2 separate regions of the Homo sapiens genome follow, and region 2 is linked to region 1. Evidence: promoter capture Hi-C in human tissues and cell types (Jung and others, 2019). All regions are on one chromosome and are shown on one strand. Each heading gives the region's core, a stretch centred on a gene start or on the middle of the fragment in contact. The rest is flanking DNA. Distances are from core to core; before and after follow the strand shown.

Evidence for each region. Contacts are between HindIII fragments. The study calls those that stand out against the background at their distance.
Region 2: a contact is called between a fragment that was not itself captured here and the fragment with the promoter of SCAF11 in region 1, in 1 of the 25 tissues and cell types used here (lymphoblastoid cells).

Annotation. Positions count from the first base shown.
Region 1 is chr12:45,988,546-45,992,447 of GRCh38, reverse strand. It overlaps SCAF11 (SR-related CTD associated factor 11), which reads left to right and starts at 1,874. Exons shown (of 15, transcript NM_004719.3): 1 at 1,874-2,095. RefSeq lists enhancers at 761-960, 1,441-1,510, 1,521-1,720, 1,439-2,152, 1,961-2,170 and 1 more and silencers at 1,841-1,890, 2,231-2,330, 2,731-2,800. The HindIII fragment of the contact is 22,524 bases long and covers 1-3,902 here.
Region 2 is chr12:46,677,062-46,680,963 of GRCh38, reverse strand. No RefSeq gene overlaps it. Among named protein-coding and RNA genes, the nearest start is that of SLC38A4, 150 kb to the left of the region's middle. The HindIII fragment of the contact is 4,963 bases long and covers 1-3,902 here.

The DNA of each region.
Region 1 (3,902 bases), core at 625-3,124:
TCCAAATAGTATATATCCTTTACTATTTGCTCTGATTTTGACAGGGAAAGGTCCTTCATAAGAATTTTGTTGTTCCATCAGAAGAAAGCATTTTAACGCCTCTAGCTCATTTTCCCCTCAAATATCCCAAATACAGTAAAGCCACCTAAATTCCCAAACCCCATATCAAAAACAGTACACTGAAAAACTCCAAAGACTTTGACAGCGACAAGACCGCCATTCATGTGTTCCTTCAGCAAGTGCCAGACGCTGTTATGAAAGTGATAAGACACTGTCCCAATCCTCACAGTGTGAGACAGTGAGCAGACTCAACAGAATGCATAGGATGAAAGTGCCAGAAAAGCGACGTCCTCAGGGCGGGAGCAGGGGACGCCGCAACGTAGTCTGCGAGAATGCAGGAAGGCGGCAGTGAAGCGGTCGGTCGGCGGGGCCGCGGCAAAGTGGGGAGGAAACTCATCCCGGGCAGGCGTCAGGGTGGCTGGAGAGCGCAGCACGCGCGAACAGAACGGGGGCAGGCGACAGGAAAACGTGTGAGCGCGCGGCTGAAAGCGACTGGGACCTGGGTGAGCCGCGCGCGGGGAGCAGAGCTTAGTCCTGCGGGAGCCGCAAGCAGGACAAGGGCGTGGGTGGGAGGACTGGAAGGTCAGCTGGTAGATGGGGGACACTGAGGGCAGGCAGAGCAACCGGAAGCTTGCTGCAGTCGACGAGAAGAGAAACTAGGAGGTTAAATAATCAGTGACTTTGAAAAAGTCAAAATACCTCCGAGGTAAAACAAAACATTTAACAACCCGCCGGGGGAAAAAGTGGAGGATGGCACACACGTCACTATCTAACCACAACGCGGAGGCCTTTTAAGTAAATAATGATAAAGTTTTTGTTGTTGTTTGAGACAGGGTCTCGCTCTGTCGCCCAGGCTGGAGTGCAGTGGAACGATCTCGGCTCACTGCAACCTCCGCCTCCCGGGTTCAAGCGATTCTCCCACCTCATCTTCCCGAGGAGCTGGGACCGCAGGTGCGCGCCACCACGGCCGGTTAATTTTATTTTTTGTAGAAACGAGATCTTAATACGTCGCTCAAGCTGGTCTCGAACTGCTGAGCTCAAGCGATCCGCCAGCCTCGGCCTCCCAAAGCGCTGGGATTACCGGCGTGAGCCACCGCGCACCTGGCCCAAATTTAATTTTGTGATGTGGGGTTAAGACATGGGAAAGCCCCTAGGCTCGGGGAGTCAGGCGGGAAAGCTCTCCCCCTGGCATCTAAAAAAATGCCCACCAGAAAGGAGGAAAGGTGGGCTTCCAAATTGCCGACTCTTCACTCCACAGGCTGCATTTCAGGTGGGCAGCGCAGCCAGGTGAACACTCAATCCACCGCAAACATGCGGACACTCTTTTCAATATCAGATTACCATAAAGATAAGGAGCACACCCTGCGCAAAATCCTTCCTGTCCAGTTCCCTTAAAGCCTCTTTCATTGTCCTCCGCGACGCAGCCTGTAAAACTGCCAAAGGAGGGCAGAGGCCAAAGTCCACGCGCTGCGCATGCGCACCATCCGCAGTGTGGGCGAAGGGCGGTGCTGGAAGGACGTTTCCCAGAAGGCCCCTCCAGCGCAGCTGCCCTTCCTCCCGCTCACAGGCCGCGTGACGTGACTCCACCCACCACGCTTCTCGGTCTCAAACAGCAGTTTGCCAGCGCCCCCCTGCGGCCCAACTGGGTACTACGAACATGCACTCAGGGCCAGAGCGAGCGAGTAAGCAGAATGTGGCGAGTCCGGCTGCCGCCGTCGTCACCTTAGCGCGCCGACAGCGAGGGAAGGGAGGAGGAGGGAGACGCGCAGGGAGGGGAGGGGAGGGAGGAGGCTAGACAAGGCGGGGGAAGGGGGAGTAGCGGTGGCTTAAGCCGCGCGGAGCAGCGCAACCTGGGTCGCTCCCTGCTTCGCCGCCGCCTCCGGACCGAGCCAGCGGAGTCAGTGTCCTAGAGACCCTGTAACACCACAAAGCGGACGAAGGAGTCCATGTTGGGGAACTTGGCAGCGGAGTGACTGGGACCTGGGAACCTACTGTGGGGCCGCGGCCGGACCGAGCGCCTCGACCTCGGTCTGAGGTAAACACTGGTCGACCCGCGGGGTGGATGGGCTTGGGCAGCTGTCTGGGAGAGACGAGGGTTAGCGGCCGGCGCAGAGCGCTGGAGCGGGCCTAGGGCGACGCGAGGGCTGACAAAGTTTCGGAATCTCGCGCGGCCCGTGCGACGTCGTGCGCTGGGAGGAAAGTTGGAGCTACCTCTCGAAGTGGGGGAGGCTGCGGCCGGGAGGGCCCCTTTCCCTCTCGCTGCCCCGCGAGGGAGGCTCGGCCCGGCCCTGGGCCGCCGCCGCCTCTCTGTCGCACTCTGTCCCATTTCCTCCTTGTGGCCTACGCGTCTCCCGCCGCCTTAGCTGGCGAAGCCTGTCCCCGTCCGGGTGCAGGGTCCTACGGGGGGGGGGGAAGGGGCTCCACGCCAGAACCGCCACAGACACCCTCCTCCCTGCAGTGGAAACGTGTCCTGCTGAGCTTCCGGGCGCTCCCGACCGCGGTGTCGGCTTTTCTTGGGAGACTTTGGTCGCGAGCGTCCAAGCCCGCTAGTGAAACCAAACTTTACTACGCCGTGACCTCTCGAGTGCGCGAATGGGGAAGAGCCGGCGCTTCTAAGCATCAGCCTTTTTCACTCCTTGATCTGAACTTCAAACTACTCATCCACCCCCAGTGTTTTAAATTCGCTACCTGGGCTGACAACTACGGGGCCGGGAGATATAAATTTAGCCTAATCAGTCGCCCCTTCTGAGACCTAGGAATTTTGAACCATTAAAAAGATTTCCTACAGATGGCTGGCGGTCTTGCCACCAACACGTATTTTGAAGTATTGTTTCAAAAGTAGACGCCTGATTTAGAGTACTTGATTTAGACATTCACGGATTCAAATGTTGAATTTTGAAATACTTCCAATATATTTCCGTATTGTATTACATACAGTGTCTACCAGCTGACTGTTGTTCATTCATTTTGGATTACATTTTGGCTAACATGCTACCACTGACCTAAGATACTTAAGCAAAACTGCTGAAAAATGTTTTTAATGCTTTGTGTAGTAGATGCTGATGTTAAATTTTTTTCTCCGATTTGGGAATTTTCCCCGAATTTTGGGAAAAGCATATTAATAAATGCATTATTTTTTCGTTTTAAAAGAAAAATTAATTTCTACATATCACCACCTACCTCAGCAGCAGAATATCAGGGCAGTACATTTTAAAATAACGGTTGGTTTTTGTATTTTATTAGTAATTGTATTAAAATTTTGACATGTAATCAAGTCTGTTTCTAAACAATTGCTTTCTCTTTCCTGTTTCTTTGGCAGTTGGCTTGATCATGTCACTATTTTGGTTAAAAGATGCAAGAAAAAGTTCATGGGCCTTTTGTTTTTGTTGTTTTAACTAAGCAAGAGAAATGAAATCTTGAAACTGTCTTTGGATTTCTTTTGTTTTATATTATCCTATCGGATAATCTGAATTTATATTTTTTATGCAATGTGAGTTTTTTAAAAACAGTTCTTAGGGTAGCTGCATTTTAGCTATAATATTTTTTGGTGCTTGCAGATATTTTAACAGTCATTCAGTTTTTCACATTCAGATAGTGAACTTTTTGCCTGAGAGTTTGAGTACATTTTAAGATTTCACTGGGGTAAAATTTGAATGTTTGCTTACTGTAAGTATACTCATGCTTTAAAGACATTCTTCAGTATAAAGGGGAAGAAAACTGTAGAAGAAAATTTAAAGTTTCTAAATATGTTGCCAGAAAACATGTCATGGAGAAAATTTTACGGATAATTTTTTAATTTTTTCTGTTAATACCTTCATGTGGTAATAGGGCTAGTGTGTTAA
Region 2 (3,902 bases), core at 487-2,986, 690 kb before region 1:
CCACCTGCTTATACTACTGATTGCTTGAGGAAAATAAGGCACAGAGAAATGAAAGGGCATTTAGACCCATTTCTTGAACAAATTGCTTTACCCATTCTATTTCCAACTTGCAAGGAAAAGTTTTGCACCCCTTTAGGGAGGATCCTTCCAAAACTACTAGGCTTCTTTTTTTTTTTTTTCTCACAGGAAATACCTTTAACCACAGGGAACGTCTGATGCCTATTATTCCTGTAACATCCTCTCTGTCCTGGATGGTGGCTATTTTTCCAGTTGTTAATGGATCATCCTGCAGGTTCAGCTGCCTTCCTCCTTCAAATGCCCAGATCTCTTGTGAATGTTTCTTCACTAATCTCACCCAAAGGACCAAAAGCATTTCAAAATTATGAGCAGGGTGGGGAAGAAAAGAGAGTACCTGCAAATATAATACACTTAAAATAAAAATCACTGGCAACTACTCAGTTGGCAAAAGCAAGTTCCTCCCCTCAGTGTCAAATAAAGACATACTGATAAGCACTGCTGCCGTCTCTTAAACCATCATTTTGCAAATTATTTTCCACCATGCAGAAGGGTCACCTTAGAGAATGACAGCTCTAGACATTATTTCTATTGTTCCAGTTCCTCCTCTGAGGCTCCCACAGCCCCATTCCTCAGCACACACATTGCTTTGGGAGTAGTTACTATTGCCACAGAGATGTCTTTAGATTGTGCTTCAATGTTAGTCAATACAAAAGTGAAATGACCTAAGATTTTGATTCAGTAGGCAAAACACTATGTGTATAAAATACATCTAAAGAGGAAAATTAACAAATTTGCCATCTTTGGATTTTACTTCCTACGGCTAAAAGCCAGAGATCAGGCTTCTTTTAATCCTTTTCATCCTCTTTAACTTCAAGCTATTTCTTGTATACCATCCTGTGTGTGTGTGTACACCTGACCCATTCCTACTCATTATTTTTATATTAGTATAAGAACATCAGTAGATCAGTTACCCATCAACCCAAGCTGAATATGTCATCAATTAAAAATAGTTACTGGCCATTCTCATATTTCACACTTTTAGCATTCTTTTAACAGGTACCTAGATGTCTATTTAAATCCAAATAGTCAAACAATAATAACAAGATTGTTTTCACAGGACATTGACGTTTGATATAACACACTTGAAGGAATTCTGATCGTTTAATTAAATTGATACTCTCTTGTAACAGGAAATCGACACAACCCCTTTGGAAAACTGTTGGCATTATTAACCACTTTGCAAAACTGTTGGCATTATTTACTAAAGCTGAAAATACACAGGATTTCCACTCTTGAATAATACCTATATATGTGTGCATATATACACACACTACACTACAAAGAGACGTGCAAAAGATTGTTCATTGTGGAATTATCTGTAACAAAATAAAACGGAAACAACTCAATTCTCTATCACCTGGAAAATGGAGAAATAAAATTATGTATATTCGTATAATAAAGTCTTTTATAGCAATAAGAATGAATGAACCAAGCTACATACAACAAGAATACAGCTCATAACCTAATGTTAAGCAAAAAATGTCAGACACAAAGGAATGCATACTGAATGATTCCATTTATATAAATGCCACAAAGAAGCAATCTATTCTATATATTAATCTGTGATGACATACTAATGGCAGTGGCAGTAGAGGAACAATGATAGTGCCTGAGAGGAAGCAAAGGGGGCTCCTTGGATGTTTCATGATGTTGTCTTTCTTGACTGGGTTGTGGTTTAATGGATGTTTACCTTGAGATAACTGGTTCAGCTGTACATTCATGTAATATGCACTCTTTCTTCAATAAAAAGTTTTAAAAGAAGTAATGATACATAACCAATATTTCTGATGCACGGAGGAGGTATTATGTGGAAAAGCACCAACAACTCTTGGTTAAAAAGTGACTTGGAAGAGTTAGACTCTGAATGTGAAGTTTTAGGAATATCTTAAGCAATTTATTTTGCTTATATGTTTCTTTTTATTATGCATAAGGAGGATATATGATAAAATTCTCTGTATAAGTAAGCCTTAGAGATCTCCTTTAATAAGTATCAATTTAAAATTCTAAGTGATATGGAAGTATAGTGACAGGTTTTTTTCTTAGTGGTACATAAAATAATGGTACATTTTACTATCTATGGTTTCTTAGATTCGATGGTATATAATATAAAAGTTATTGTTTATAAATTTAATTTATCCAACAAAAGGATTCAGAAGGCAGTGAAATCAGGAAGTTGGCATACTCATAAAGAAATGTTGAAGCACTGGCCATGTAAATGCGAAGCTGAGTCAATGTAAGCAACAGTAGTACTAAGCTCAGCAAGTCTTAACTTGTACAGTGATTACGCAGAGTAACAGTTAAGCATAAAATCCAAGTAAAGAAAGAAGGAATTTAGAAGATGGATTAAATGAGAGCTGTATATCTGCTGTGGTTTTTAAAATTTCTGGTTAGCCCAGGGAAATTATTCAGCTTAGGTCCACCAACTTGGGCTAACTGCAATTACAGTTATGAGAATGAACCAAATATCTGCATCTTCCTAACTCCCACTTTTACTTTGTTTCTAAGTTGCCTGTGTACTTGTGTTATCTCCCCCACTAGACCATGACACCCTAAGGACAGGAATAGTCATATTTCTCTTGCATCCTCTATAGCATCCAGGTAGTGCTGAAAATATAATAGACAATTAGTAATCCCCCAAAAAAACACCTCTGCATTATAATGTCTCAGTTCAAGTATGATCCAAGCAGTTTTTGTCAAAGACATCAAGAGGAACCTCAAGCGCTCTGAATGCTAATTCATCTTCACTGACTGTAAGCACCAGAATTAACCTATCTTCCCAGTTTATACACATGTCTGGTGTTAAGACGCAGTTGTAATTCATGTTTCATAGACTCAACTGCTAATGTAGAAGTTTCAGGCTCCTACAAAATCCCCACCACCCTACAAATATTTCTGGGGATCCTCCAGTAGATGGCTCACCTATACTTAGTAACAAATCCACTCCTGGTGTCTGCTACTGCCACTCTCTCCTGTCTTTTCTACCAGTGCATCTTCCAGCCAACACCATGCTCCATGGGTACTTCTCTCTCCCACCAGAGAGGAGATAGCTGCACTTTACAGTGTTTTCTTGGAAAAGAGGTGGGTAATCGCCTTGCCTCCTTTGGGGTCATAATCTGTTAAAGAACTATTCAGGCCAAGCTGCCACTGCACTAATGTCTTAAATTTAGAGAAATAGCCCTTCCAGTCTTTACTTTGTTCTCTCCTCACAACAGTATTGAAGTATTCATGTTGTGGGGGCTGGGCTTGGAGATAAATCGCAGCAATACACTCAGTGAGATCACAAAAACTGCCTCTCCCTTTGGTCTCAATAGAGCCTCTGGAAAAAGGCCCCTTTGGAATGTGGTAACAAAACCTTTCTTTGGGTCACCAAACTGTCACCTAAATTTGTTGTATGAATATCCTTAAATATACAGCTGATTGGGGCACTAGACTTTAAACCAGCAATTATTGACTTGGATATTGTGTTTAATGTATAAAAACAACTGCCTTTTGTTTCTATAGATTTCAAGTCCTGGCAGGTTCCTCGGGCCAGGGTGGCCCAGCCTACAAATGCCTGGCTCCTGAACAGAGGGGACCCAATGGCTATTTTCCAGGACAGATGGAAGTATCAGGACTGGGCAGCTACTGTTGCTCTTGCTGAGTCGCTAGAGGCGACATCATCTAATTTGCTTGGTTTTCGCTTGTACCCTCTCACTCAATGCTTTCTGTGTAAAAGCCCACTCATTGTACCTTCTTCTAGTTTCTCATCTTAAATCAAAAAGTTAGTCCTTATTCAGACCAATCTACCATTTGTGACTGGATCTATCTTCTTTGCCTCTCTCCCA